Linked DNA regions of Homo sapiens: all the other regions are linked to region 1. Evidence: promoter capture Hi-C in human tissues and cell types (Jung and others, 2019). All regions are on one chromosome and are shown on one strand. Each heading gives the region's core, a stretch centred on a gene start or on the middle of the fragment in contact. The rest is flanking DNA. Distances are from core to core; before and after follow the strand shown.

Region 1 (2,789 bases), core at 120-2,619:
AACAATTATGAATTGGATGTAATCAGGGAACTCATGGTGGACTGGAATCAAGGAGGGCTTCATGGAAGAGATGGGATCAGAACTGGGCTTTCAGAGTGAGGACAGGAAGAGGGAGAAAGGGGAAGACAAACAAGGCCATGGGCAGGCACAGAGCACACATTCAATAAATACTTGCTGAATGAATGAATGAGTGAATGCATGGATGACTATGGCGCTTACGGGGACTGGTGAGCCACTTTGGAGTCAGCATTGAGAATTTAAATGGCTTCAGAGACTAGGCAGGCAGCACTGATGAGTAAACCAGACCTAGTATGAGATGACAGGGAGTGGTGGAGACTGTGATAAGCTGGACGTCCACAGCCTATTGGCATTCACAGAAAAAAGGATTTCAAAACGCTGGAAAGGAAAAAAACAACTTAAACTCTGCTGGCCAAAACCAGCTCTAGGGTCACAGTTCACTTCTTTGGTTTACCTGGCAAGGAGTTAGAGCAATTTCAAGCAGGTCTCATGTGGCCCAGGGAAAGATGAGACTAGAAGGACAAGGCCCTGGGGTCCAGAGCACCGGCCGCCTTCGACATATGGGATGGACATCTCCTTGCAAAGCCCCAGGCTCCCTGTCTCCATCAACCACAGTGGGCATAGGATGAGCTGTCAGGCTTCCTCCCCAAGACATCCTTTCATGACCCCAGCAGTTCAGGGCGCTCTGCCTGATGCAGACCACCTACTCGGGGACCAGACTGGAACGTGGCTTTGGGGATGTTCAGGAGCTGGAGAACATGGGGCCATGGGGGCACTGTGGCTCTAGTCTATTCTGTTCCACTGAGAATCGGGGGCTAAAGGCAAGTTGCTCCACCTGTCTGTACAACAGGGACCCCACCATCCCTGCATAATGCCTGCCTTCTTACTCCGAGGGGATATGGAACAGACACATGGGATAATCAGTGAGGAAGGGCTTGCTCCGAAATCTTAGAATGACTCCCCATAGACAGGAACAGACCCCTGCCCACCGCAGCCAGCTGCACCACCCGCCCCCCGCAGGCTGGGACCCCGCACCTCTGGCCTTGTAGTACTCGTGTTCCAGCTCCCCCTCGTCGTCCTCCGAGGCGTAGTTCAGCAGCTCCGCTTCGTACAGGGCCAGGAAGTCGATGTCCTTCTTCCTCCGCCTTTTCTTCTGGGGCATCATTCTGTCGGCTGCCTTCTCCCAGCGCTCGCAGGCTCACTGTGCCGCCTCCTCACACCTGCGGGAACCTGAGACCTCCTCCCTGAGCTCTGGCGCCCACGGCCCTCCTATAGCTCAGGCCTGGGTGGGCCAGAGTGCCCCGTTTTCTTGGCTTCCCCGTGCCCAAGGTGCTGTTCCCTCTGCCTTCTCTGGCTCCTGAGCTGAACCTCAGTGCCTTATCTCTGAACCTCCTGTCCCTGTCCCCTCCCACCACCCTCTGGTGAGCCACCTCCTCCTCCTCTGTACCTGCCCCGGGGCTTCTCTTTGGGCCTCATCACTTATTCATGGCGCTGAGGGCAGGCTGACTTCCTTCCTCTCTCCCCTCCCCACCAGCCCTCTCTCCTCCCTATGGAGAATCAGGTGACACGGAGCCCTTGAAGTCCATTTCCCACCTGGCCTCACAGCCAGGGGGTCACCTGGGATCCCTCCAGGCCACCCCAGGGACAGGTGAGGGCTCCTCACCCAGGAGATCTCCCAAGCCTTACAGCCCACACGGGACCCTCCTGAGGAAGGCGGGGCCCCGGAATCAGCCAGGCTCCCAGGACTCAAAGGCCCCCGTTTCTCTCCATTATTCATGACCTCTGATCGTCTTACGGAGCAGGCGGGGTTCTCGCTGGATCCTTCTCGTTCTCTCTCTCTGCTTCCATCTCATCAAGACTGCGGGCTTCCGGAAGTGGCCTCTGGGCACGAGGAAAGCTAGGGCACCAGAAAACTCTCCCCGCTCCCCCTGCCAGGTGAGCTTTATATGCACTAAAGTTTAAACATCATCGTAGCCGATGCCCTCCCAGGTGAACTCACTAACTAGATCAGCTCACCACCTGGACTCACGGGAGGGCATCAGCAAGCTCCTACCCCAGGGCGCACAGCCCGGGCTGCACACCAGAAGCCCCCAGAGAGGTGTTGAACGCTAATGCGTGGGTCCCATCCCCAAGGATTCTGATTTGCTTGGTTTGGGACGCAGCTTGGGCCCCAGTTTTTAAAGCTCCTGGTGACTTTCATGTGCAGCCATGTTGAGGGTCCCTGAATCGCTTCTCAGGTAACTTAGGTGTGCTAACAGGAGTCCTCTAGAAGCAACACGTGTGATTTTGTCCTCTAAGCCAAAATAGTGACTCTAAAGGGGAATTTCAGGTGGAGAGGAAGAGAGGATTTGGAGCGGACGCCTGAGGAGCAGTCGGCACTCACAGGCCTCCCCGGCAGCCTGGGGCAGCTTTGGTCCTGCCCTGCTCTTTGGAGCCATCCAAATCTTCCACTAGGGGGAGGCATCTCTAACCCCGAACGTTCCTACCCAGGAAAGATCAACCTCCCCTCTTCCCCTATTCAGCTGAGGGGCCGCCCTTGAAGCAGCTCAAAGTCCTCTGAGGACCAGGAGTGAAGTTTAATGGTGGGTGGCGCGCGCCCCCTTCTGGCAATATGTGGTTTACACACCTGGATTCTTCAGGAAGAGACCTTCCTTAAGGATCTCTAGGAATCTACTAAGAAAACTCATTTTACACGAGTACCCATTCAGGGAAAAGATAATAAAACGTTTCTTAGAATTTTTTTTGAGACGGAGTCTCCCTCTGTCGCCCAG
Region 2 (2,914 bases), core at 91-2,590, 270 kb before region 1:
ACCTTTGTGCCCGTAGACAGTATCTCTGTTCCCTCCCCCTCAAAGATTTCCAGAGTGGTGTGCAGGGCTCCCTTTCAGTTGGCAAACCTTTTGACATCTCCATGGGAGATGGTCCAGCCAACTCTGGCGTATATTCTCAGAGATCCTGCTTACCACACTGGTGCCAGCTCTTGTCTGTTGGGTTAGAGAATATGTTTGGTTGGGTGGTGTGATGTCATGGGCCAGGGGAATCTTGTCCTGCCTCACCAATTACAGGGTTGCTTCCTGGGCCTCAAATCTAATTGCACAGAGATGAGAGCTCTCCTGGGAGATGAAAGTGGTGGCTTGTGAGGACAAGTGGGTGTAAATGACTGATAACAGATTGTTTTGTCTGGAAGGAAGGACTTGCATGTGCCTGTGCATGTGTGTGTGAGTGTGCGTGTGCATATGTGTGCAGGGAGGGATTCTGAAGAGGAAGGTGTTGCACAAGGATGTCCAGGTTGAAACCCAGGAGCTTTTCTAGCGTGGCTCTACTGACTCTAGTGGACAGAGAACAGGCTCTGGAGCTCCAAATCCCCCAGATTCTGCTCCTGTCTGCTGATAGGTAGAAGCAGGAACAAAACTTACTTTGAAATGCACAGACAGAAAATCTTAATACAAGCCCCACAGCCCCTGATCTAGAAGTGTCAGCTGTCCCCCTTTGGAGCATGAACTGAGCCCTCACCAGCTCTTCCCAGAGCTTCTGTGCCCCTCCCCAGCCTCTTGCTCCAAGCCTGCACTTTTGGCAGGACCCCCTCGAGGCAGTTAATTAAAAAATCAGTGTTTGCCTTTATATTGGAAAAGAGATTTTTGCCCCCTCTGTAAGTGATAAGTGTTTCAGCTGAGCCTGGTGAGGTATCTGGGGCTGGAAGAGTTGCTTTTACTAATACATGCCAAGAAGACTGTAATGCTGTCTTCATAAAATAAGGGGATGGGGCTAGATGACCTCATGGCGGTGTGTGGTGGTTCTGATGCTCTGGCCCCAAGAACCCCTTGTCTCCGGAAGGGAGTTGCTTCCAACCATCTGGGCCTCTTTCTCAGCTGTTTTGCCAAAAATAAAGTATTGGGGTTCACCCTCAGTTTTGTGAGGCCTTAGAAGCAAATGCCAAGGCCCATCTGTCCAGGGGCCATGTTCTCAGGGAAATGCTGTTAGCTACCTACATGCCAGGGTTTCTCTTCCTCTGGCTGCCTCATTTCTTACACTGGCGAGGGAGCTGAATGAAAGCCTTCTCTGCACATACAAAGATCTGTAGACTGTCCGACACCCTTCTACTCTTTAATCATCAGCATTGTCATCGTTGCCTTCATCTCTGACATTTGTACAAATCTGATGGCTTACCAGGTACCATCAAATATATAGTCATTTCATTTGAGACACAAGCTCCCCTTATGGTGGAGCTGGGGCAGGTGTAAACTTCATTGTTTTATAGGAAGCAGAGGCAGAGGGGTTAATATCAATTTTTTTTTCCCTAAGGCCTGGTAAGGACTGGGGCCAGAACTAGAATCCAGGTCTTTTGCTAAGCTATCTTATGTCTTGACCCCCCATCAATCCATCCATCCATCCATCCATTCACCCACCCATCCACCCATCCATCCATCATTCCATCCGGCAGATAATTATTAAGTGCTCATTTCATTCCAACCATGTAGATAGCTATAGAGTAGTGAACAAAACAGGATCTTTTCCCTGTCCCTGGCAGCTGTCCTTTCAGTGGAGATTCTCTTTCTGGGACATGGTGCTGTCTTTATAGGTAGGAAGAACTGGGGAGCTGGACATGCGGCTCTCAGAGGAACATTTTGTTTTCACTTCTCATCACTTCCTCCTTCCTTCTTCCCACAGCAGACAGGATTTAGGCCATTTTGGGAGTCCCCCACTTTCTGATTTCTAGTACCTTTGGCATCATGGGCAGTGTTTGGGTGGCGGAGGAGCAGCTACTCCTTTTGGCGGGGGACACTGACATTCCTGGGCACTGCTGCGTGCCGCTGCTGAACCAGGCACTTGGCCAACATTCTCTTCTAATTCATTCCTCACACAGTTCTGAGGGGCAGTAGACAGGCTGGGTAAAGAGGCTGAGGAGAGTGCGCCAGGCCAGGGAAGCAGTGATTTTTGGTGGTCTCACAGCAGTGACACTCTGACATAGCTTGTCAACAGAGGGCTACAGTCTGTCCAGCTTAGCAGACAAGTTTCTTCATGGCTTGTTCTCAAACTTCAACGTCCAGCTGAGGCATGCATAAAAAAAGGCAGATAACCAGGCCCCACCTCCAGAGAGTCCCATTCAGCAAGTGGGTGAGGGGGTTGGGGATCTGCATTGAAACAAGCCCCCATCCTCCATGATTCCAGTGCAGAGCTTGGGGAACCACTCTGAAGTAAGGAAAGCAGCTTTTCCTTTGGACAGTGCAGGCCTTTGGGAGTGAATCCAGTACAAAAACAGCATTAGCTCTGAGGACAAGAAATGTGTACAGAACTTGCAATATTCCAGGACTAGGGGAGAAACTTGTCCCAACTTTAGTGCCAAATTCCCCTCCAGGCTGTGCAAAATGTGGAAGTCCCTGTGCTTCCCGGCACCACCTGGGTGTAGCTCTGGAGGGCATGAAGCAAGAAAAACATTCCCCACTTGGAAGAAGTCCAGAGCTGGGCATACAGACCCGTGGAGGGTGCAAGGGCCCCTGAATGGGAACAGACCAGAAACCACAGATAGCTTCAGTTTGGAAGTCAAACGCTGGGACGGGAGAAGCTTCTAGTCTTCATCATCGAGGACTGCTGAAATCCCAGGGTCAGCTCAGGGATCTGTGTGCACCCAAAGCAGCCTCTTGAAGCAGAAGCTGACCTTAGGGGTTATTTAGTTACAGGGACAGCCAGTGCAGGGCAACGCAGGCTGCCAGTCCAGCTCTTAGG
Region 3 (2,704 bases), core at 58-2,557, 440 kb before region 1:
ATTAATTATAGCAAAATTCCACTATAGGAAGAAAGCATAGTAGAATTTATTGACTAAGCTTGACCCAAAGAGTAGTCTAGTGTTATGGCCCCAGAAAAGCACAACTTCTTTTTCTTCAGAAGACTTTTATGTCAGAGTGGATTTTTGAATAGATAATGTTTGTATACATCACAAATTCAAGAGATACAAAACTGCATACCACACTGTCTTCTCCTGTTCCCTTATTCACCTGCTTTCCTTCTCAACTGGTATTACTATTTTCTTAAGTATCTTTCCAGAGTCTATGCATCTACAGATAAACTCATGTAAATATAGTTTTGTTATTTATTTACATAAATGCTATAATGTATCTTTTTTCATTAAAATTGCGTGAGAACTGTTTCTTACCTCTCTATATAAAGTGCTTTCTCATTTTTTTAATGGCCACATTGTATGAACATACCATGATGAGCTAACTTTTGTCCTGTTTGTGGTCAATACTAGTCTTTTGTGATTGATTTGAGCATATTTAAGTGGTTTTGACTGCAATACCGGTTACTAATTTAGGTAGTATAAATTAAATCTCAGTTAACACTCAAATTTAAGGAACTTGAAAGATAATCATTAAATTGAATGATGTGCCATATTGTCATTTTTTTTTAACAGGGAAAAACAATCTAGATTTACCTGTTTTATCCACACAACTTATTTCTTGAAGAAACAAGCGTTGTATGGTCATTTTAACAAATTTACTTTTTAGTCTGATGCTGTATTATGTACTTTGAAAATATCCAGTGCTGCCTTCTTTCACAAATTGAGACTTTTGATGCTTGTCCTATATAGCTGACATTAATTCCATCTGAGTATATTTTCTCAGATATTTTAGCTTTAAGAAGAATTTTTTTTTTTTTTTTTTTTTTTTTTTTGGAGACTAAGTCTCACTCTGTCGCCCAGGCTGGAGTGCAGTGGCGGGACCTCGGCTCACTGCAAGCTCCACCTCCCGGGTTCAAGTGATTCTCCTGCTTCAGCCTCCTAAGTAGCTGAGATTACAGGTGCCTGCCACCACGCCTGGCTAATTTTTGTATTTTTAGTAGAGATGGGCTTTGACCATCTCGGCCAGGCTGGTCTTGAACTCCTGATCTCGTGATCCACCTGCCTCGGCCTCCCAAAGTGCTGGGAATACAAACGTGAGCCACCGTGCCCAGCCTTAAGAAGAATCATTATTCCAGAATATACAATTTGAATCTCCATAATAGAATTAACTCTCATTTTTATTCAGTTAGAAAATCTTTGTCCCCCCCACTGCTAAATTTGACTGGCTTAAAAAAAAGAACTTGGGTTTATTCCTCATACCTGGGGGTATTTTGTATCTGTGAATATTTTATTTCGTGTTTGTATTGACAGCATGCTTTATTTATAACGGTCTCCGTTGGTTTAACTGTTACTCCCTCTGTTGGCTTTCAGAGGTGTTACATTTTTTTGTAATGGTGTCAGAAAAAATATTTATGCTGATTTTCACTTAGCCTCCAACATTAGTATTATAATTGATACAAATATGCTTGTGAAGTAGGCTACACACAAGATTGTTTTATTTATTTTTTATTTATTTTATTTATTTTTTTGAGATGGAGTCTTGCTCTGTCACCCAGGCTGGAACGCAGTGGCGTGATCTTGGCTCACTGCAACCTCCGCCTCCCAGGTTCAAGCAGTTCTTTTGCCTCAGCCTCCCGAGTAGCTGGGACTACAGGCGCTCGCCACCATGCCTGGCCAATTTTTGTATTTTTAGTAGAGACGGGGTTTCACCATGTTGGCCAGACTGGTCTCGAACTTCCAACCTCAGGTGATCCACTTGCCTCCACCTCCTAAAGTGCTGGGATAACAGGTGTGAGCCACCACTCCTGGCCTAGGATTGTTTTAAATTAACAGATGTTTCAGTGGCCATGAATGTTCTGGTTTCCATGAATGTGTTAAGGAAACTTAATCAGAATGCCTGTTTTATCAACAGCTGAGAACAGGGCTATGAAAAACAACAGGCATATAGAATATTTATGTTTGTATTAAGCAAAAAGTGGGCTTGGCATGTTAGATCTGTTTTAAAGGATTTTGCAAATATTTCCTAGTTTTTGTCTGCTATAGATTGAACTATCTAGGTAACTTGATGGAGTGAGATGATGGAGATGCCATATTGCACCTAGCATACCGTATAGAATAATGGTTATGTGTGTCTGTGACCTATGGACATGATAGTTGCTTTCTGTAATGTAACACATACAGGGCAAGGTATTTACTTGTTTTCCATATTTAGCATCCTCTTTAAAAACCACCAGATTTTCAATAGGTTCTTGGAAACTGCGACTTTAAATGGAACAAGATACTGCTGGTCTTTGAATGATGTCCTTTAGTTATAAGGTTAATGAGAAAAATTGGTTTTGTTAAATGTCATTTCACTTAAAGTCTCAGTTTCCAAGAACCTGTTGACAATGTTAAGTAAGGACTTAACTGTATATAGGTCATAAGCTTTTGAGGTTAAATATTATGTCCTGTACCTGTATGGTTAATTGGAGTTGTATCACTCACAGTGGTGGTAGAGTGTTAGGTTCTAAATTTAGCATACAAAGTGTACAATGGGTGTAGAGTATTTTCTCTTAAATCCCTTTATTCATTCATAGAATATACTAGGCTTTCTGGGTTCTGTATTTAGTGACCATTGTGGATAAAACATCTA
Region 4 (2,731 bases), core at 78-2,577, 350 kb before region 1:
GAAATAAGACCCCTCCACACGAGCACAGACAAAAACAAGAATACTAGCTGAACCACAGAAATAAACCAACATCTGCCTCCCCCAGCCGATGGGAGGGGCTACGGCTTCTTTACCCAATACAGCGTTAGCACTGCTTCATTCCTCCGCTTCTAGGTCAGAATCCTAAAGATACTCTAATGTCCTCGATCATAGAATTCTCCTGCTCCCTGACTGCAACCAGTGGAGAGGAAATCCCCACTTCTCCGAACCCTTCCCAAAGTCACCAAAGAAACACAAACCCTGCAACTTCCTTCTAACACAACCCTCCAACCGGGATGCGCCATAGCTCCCCAGGGGTGTGGTCTCCCCCGTCACAGCTGCATCAATAGATGTAGCTCTGGTTGGCTGCAGGTGTCTTTCCAGCGGTCCCTGACTGATGGCATCAGCTGGCTCAAGGGTGCTCATCATGAGAGCAAGTGTCTTTCATACAGCGCACCAAGTCAGGAGCCCTTCCTTCCAGCCTCCAGTCATGTCTCTGCCACCAGCTACATGACCTTGAGCAGGTCCTTAACCTGGGAGTCTCGGCATCTCCGGCTGCAAAATGGAGCAAGACTTGCCTTGCTACCACTCCCGGAAAGGGAGGATGGTGTGAGACACTGCCTGTGAAGGTGGCTAGGAGGAGTCTGACCCTTGCACAGGGTCACCGTGGAATTTGCTTTCAACTTCTGAGAGTGAAAAGAGACATTATTGATAACTACAGTGAGGCACAGGTATAAACCAGGCCTCTCCCCAGCAAAATGAGAGGAAAGGTGACCCGCCTCAGAGGAGCTATGGGAAATGAAGGCAGAGAGGGTGTGAGGTGCCTCTGGGAGTTGATGAGTGTAGTGGGGTGAATGAGGGCCCCCCAGAAGACATGCACATGTCCTAGCCCTCAGAACCTGTGAATGTGACCTTATCTGAAAAAAGGGTCTTTCCAGATGTAATTAAATTAAGCATCTTGAGATGAGTCATCCTGGATTACCTAGGTGGTCCCTAAATCCAATGACAAGTGTCTTTATGGAAACAGAAGAGGAGAGAAAACCCAGGGCACAGAGAAGCCAGGGGAAGATGGAGGCAGGCACTGGAGTGCTGTGGCCACAAGCCAAGGAAGCCTGGAGCCACCACGAGCTGGAAGAGATGGGAAGGATTCTCTCCTAGATCCTTTGGAGGAAGTCCAGTCCTGCTGACATCCTGATTCTGGACTTCTGTCTTCCAGAATTGTGAGAGGATAACTTTTTGTTGTTTTAAACATCAAGTTTGTGGTGATTTGTTACGGCAGCCCTGGAAAACAAACCCAGTGGGCAGGGGGGCCTTTAAAGACACCCTCCCTGGATGCTCTGTCCCTCCCAGGGACTCTCTCTGGAATTGCATTATTCAGTTGCAACAGAGGTCACCCGCTACCTCCCACCTCCTGGCCCGGGTTTCAGCCTTGCCCAGGGAGGAGGTAGGGCTCCAGGCCTGCAAGCATCTCTCCCAGAGTGCTGAGCCCCAGATTCACACCTTGCTCCAGCTGTGGGGAGGGGGCAGCTGTCTAAGCAGCTGAGGATCTGAGGATTGCTCTTGTGTGGCAGAGAAAGAGCCTAATCCACTATGTTTTAGGGGCATCTGGCCAGGCTCTGGCCCAGGACTGGAGAAGCTGTGGGAAGTAGGTCCGCAGGTCTGCCCAGGAGCCAAATGAAAGCAGGGGTCAGGGGAAGGAGCAGCGGAAGGTGGTGAAGTCAGAGGCCTGTAACCTCCCCTTTCTTTCTTTCTTTTTTCTTTTTTTTTTTTTTTTTGAGACAGGATCTCTGTCACCCAGGCTGGAGTGCAGTAGCAAAATCTCAGCCCACTGCAACCTCTGCCTCCTGGGCTCAAGCAATCCTCCCGCCTCAGCCTCCTAAATAACTGGGACTACAGGTGCTTGCCACCATGCCCAGCTAATTTTTGTATTTTTGGTAGAGATAGGGTTTTGCCATGTTGGCTAGGCTGGTCTCGAACTCCTGAACTCAAGCAATCTAACTGCCTTGGCCTCCCAAAGTGTTGGGATTACAGGCGTGAGCCATTGTGCCTGGCCACCTCCCCTATTATTACTTTTAAGAGGATCTAATAAACTGGCTTATGCCTAGACCTGATTACAGCACTTCCTCTCCCCGGGGATGGGGGCAGGAGGCAATGCCGGAAACGATGCCTCAAATTTAGGGTGGAATTTTGGGTATTACACAGTGTTCCTCCCTCCCCTTTCCCCATCATACTCATCATGCTCATCACACTTTTGAACTAAGGTCCAAAATTCCTTCATGGATGCAGATAAGATCTGTCATATCCTGCAGTATCTTTTAATATGAAAATCCCTGAGATAGAAGCACCTGGGGCCCCTGTATGGATTCCCTGATGGAGGCAGAAGGTCCCTGGAAGGGAAAGACAGGAAAAGAGAGAAGGCATCCAAAGGGAAATTCCGTTTTCTCCCGTATTTCAACCTGGGCCATGCCTGGTGCCAAGGCTGCAGGAAAAGTTAGCAATGATGGGAAATGATGGGATTTGCATTTCCATTTCTAGTGGTTTCCTCCTTTCTCCACCCATTTTCCAGCCTTGCTCTTCTAAATTACCTCCTGTTTTCCCCAAAGCTAGAGCTCTGGAGCTGGGCTGCTCAGAGAATGTCAATTACAGTCTCCATTTTGAGGAAATTTACAATGGGAAAGGCTAGAAGGAAACATTTAATTTAAAAAACTTTTAC

What was found. The method cuts DNA at HindIII sites, captures the fragments that hold promoters and counts their contacts. A contact is called where the count stands out against the background at its distance.
Region 2: a contact is called between a fragment that was not itself captured here and the fragment with the promoter of LOXHD1 in region 1, in 2 of the 25 tissues and cell types used here (H1 embryonic stem cells and lymphoblastoid cells).
Region 3: a contact is called between a fragment that was not itself captured here and the fragment with the promoter of LOXHD1 in region 1, in 1 of the 25 tissues and cell types used here (dorsolateral prefrontal cortex).
Region 4: a fragment that was not itself captured here is called in contact with the fragment with the promoter of LOXHD1 in region 1 in 1 of the 25 tissues and cell types used here (dorsolateral prefrontal cortex).

Annotation. Positions count from the first base shown.
Region 1 is chr18:46,655,851-46,658,639 of GRCh38, forward strand. LOXHD1 (lipoxygenase homology PLAT domains 1) reads right to left here and starts at 1,370. Exons shown (of 41, transcript NM_001384474.1): 1 at 1,054-1,370. The coding sequence starts at 1,183. RefSeq lists enhancers at 1,618-2,567, 2,378-2,427. The HindIII fragment of the contact is 5,571 bases long and covers 1-2,789 here.
Region 2 is chr18:46,384,982-46,387,895 of GRCh38, forward strand. All of the region lies in intron 1 of ARK2C (arkadia (RNF111) C-terminal like ring finger ubiquitin ligase 2C), which reads left to right. Among named protein-coding and RNA genes, the nearest start is that of ARK2C, 52 kb to the left of the region's middle. RefSeq lists an enhancer at 2,184-2,684. The HindIII fragment of the contact is 5,640 bases long and covers 1-2,914 here.
Region 3 is chr18:46,212,114-46,214,817 of GRCh38, forward strand. The region is part of intron 1 of ARK2N (arkadia (RNF111) N-terminal like PKA signaling regulator 2N); the gene reads left to right. Among named protein-coding and RNA genes, the nearest start is that of ARK2N, 39 kb to the left of the region's middle. The HindIII fragment of the contact is 5,322 bases long and covers 1-2,704 here.
Region 4 is chr18:46,302,715-46,305,445 of GRCh38, forward strand. No RefSeq gene overlaps it. Among named protein-coding and RNA genes, the nearest start is that of ARK2C, 30 kb to the right of the region's middle. The HindIII fragment of the contact is 8,639 bases long and covers 1-2,731 here.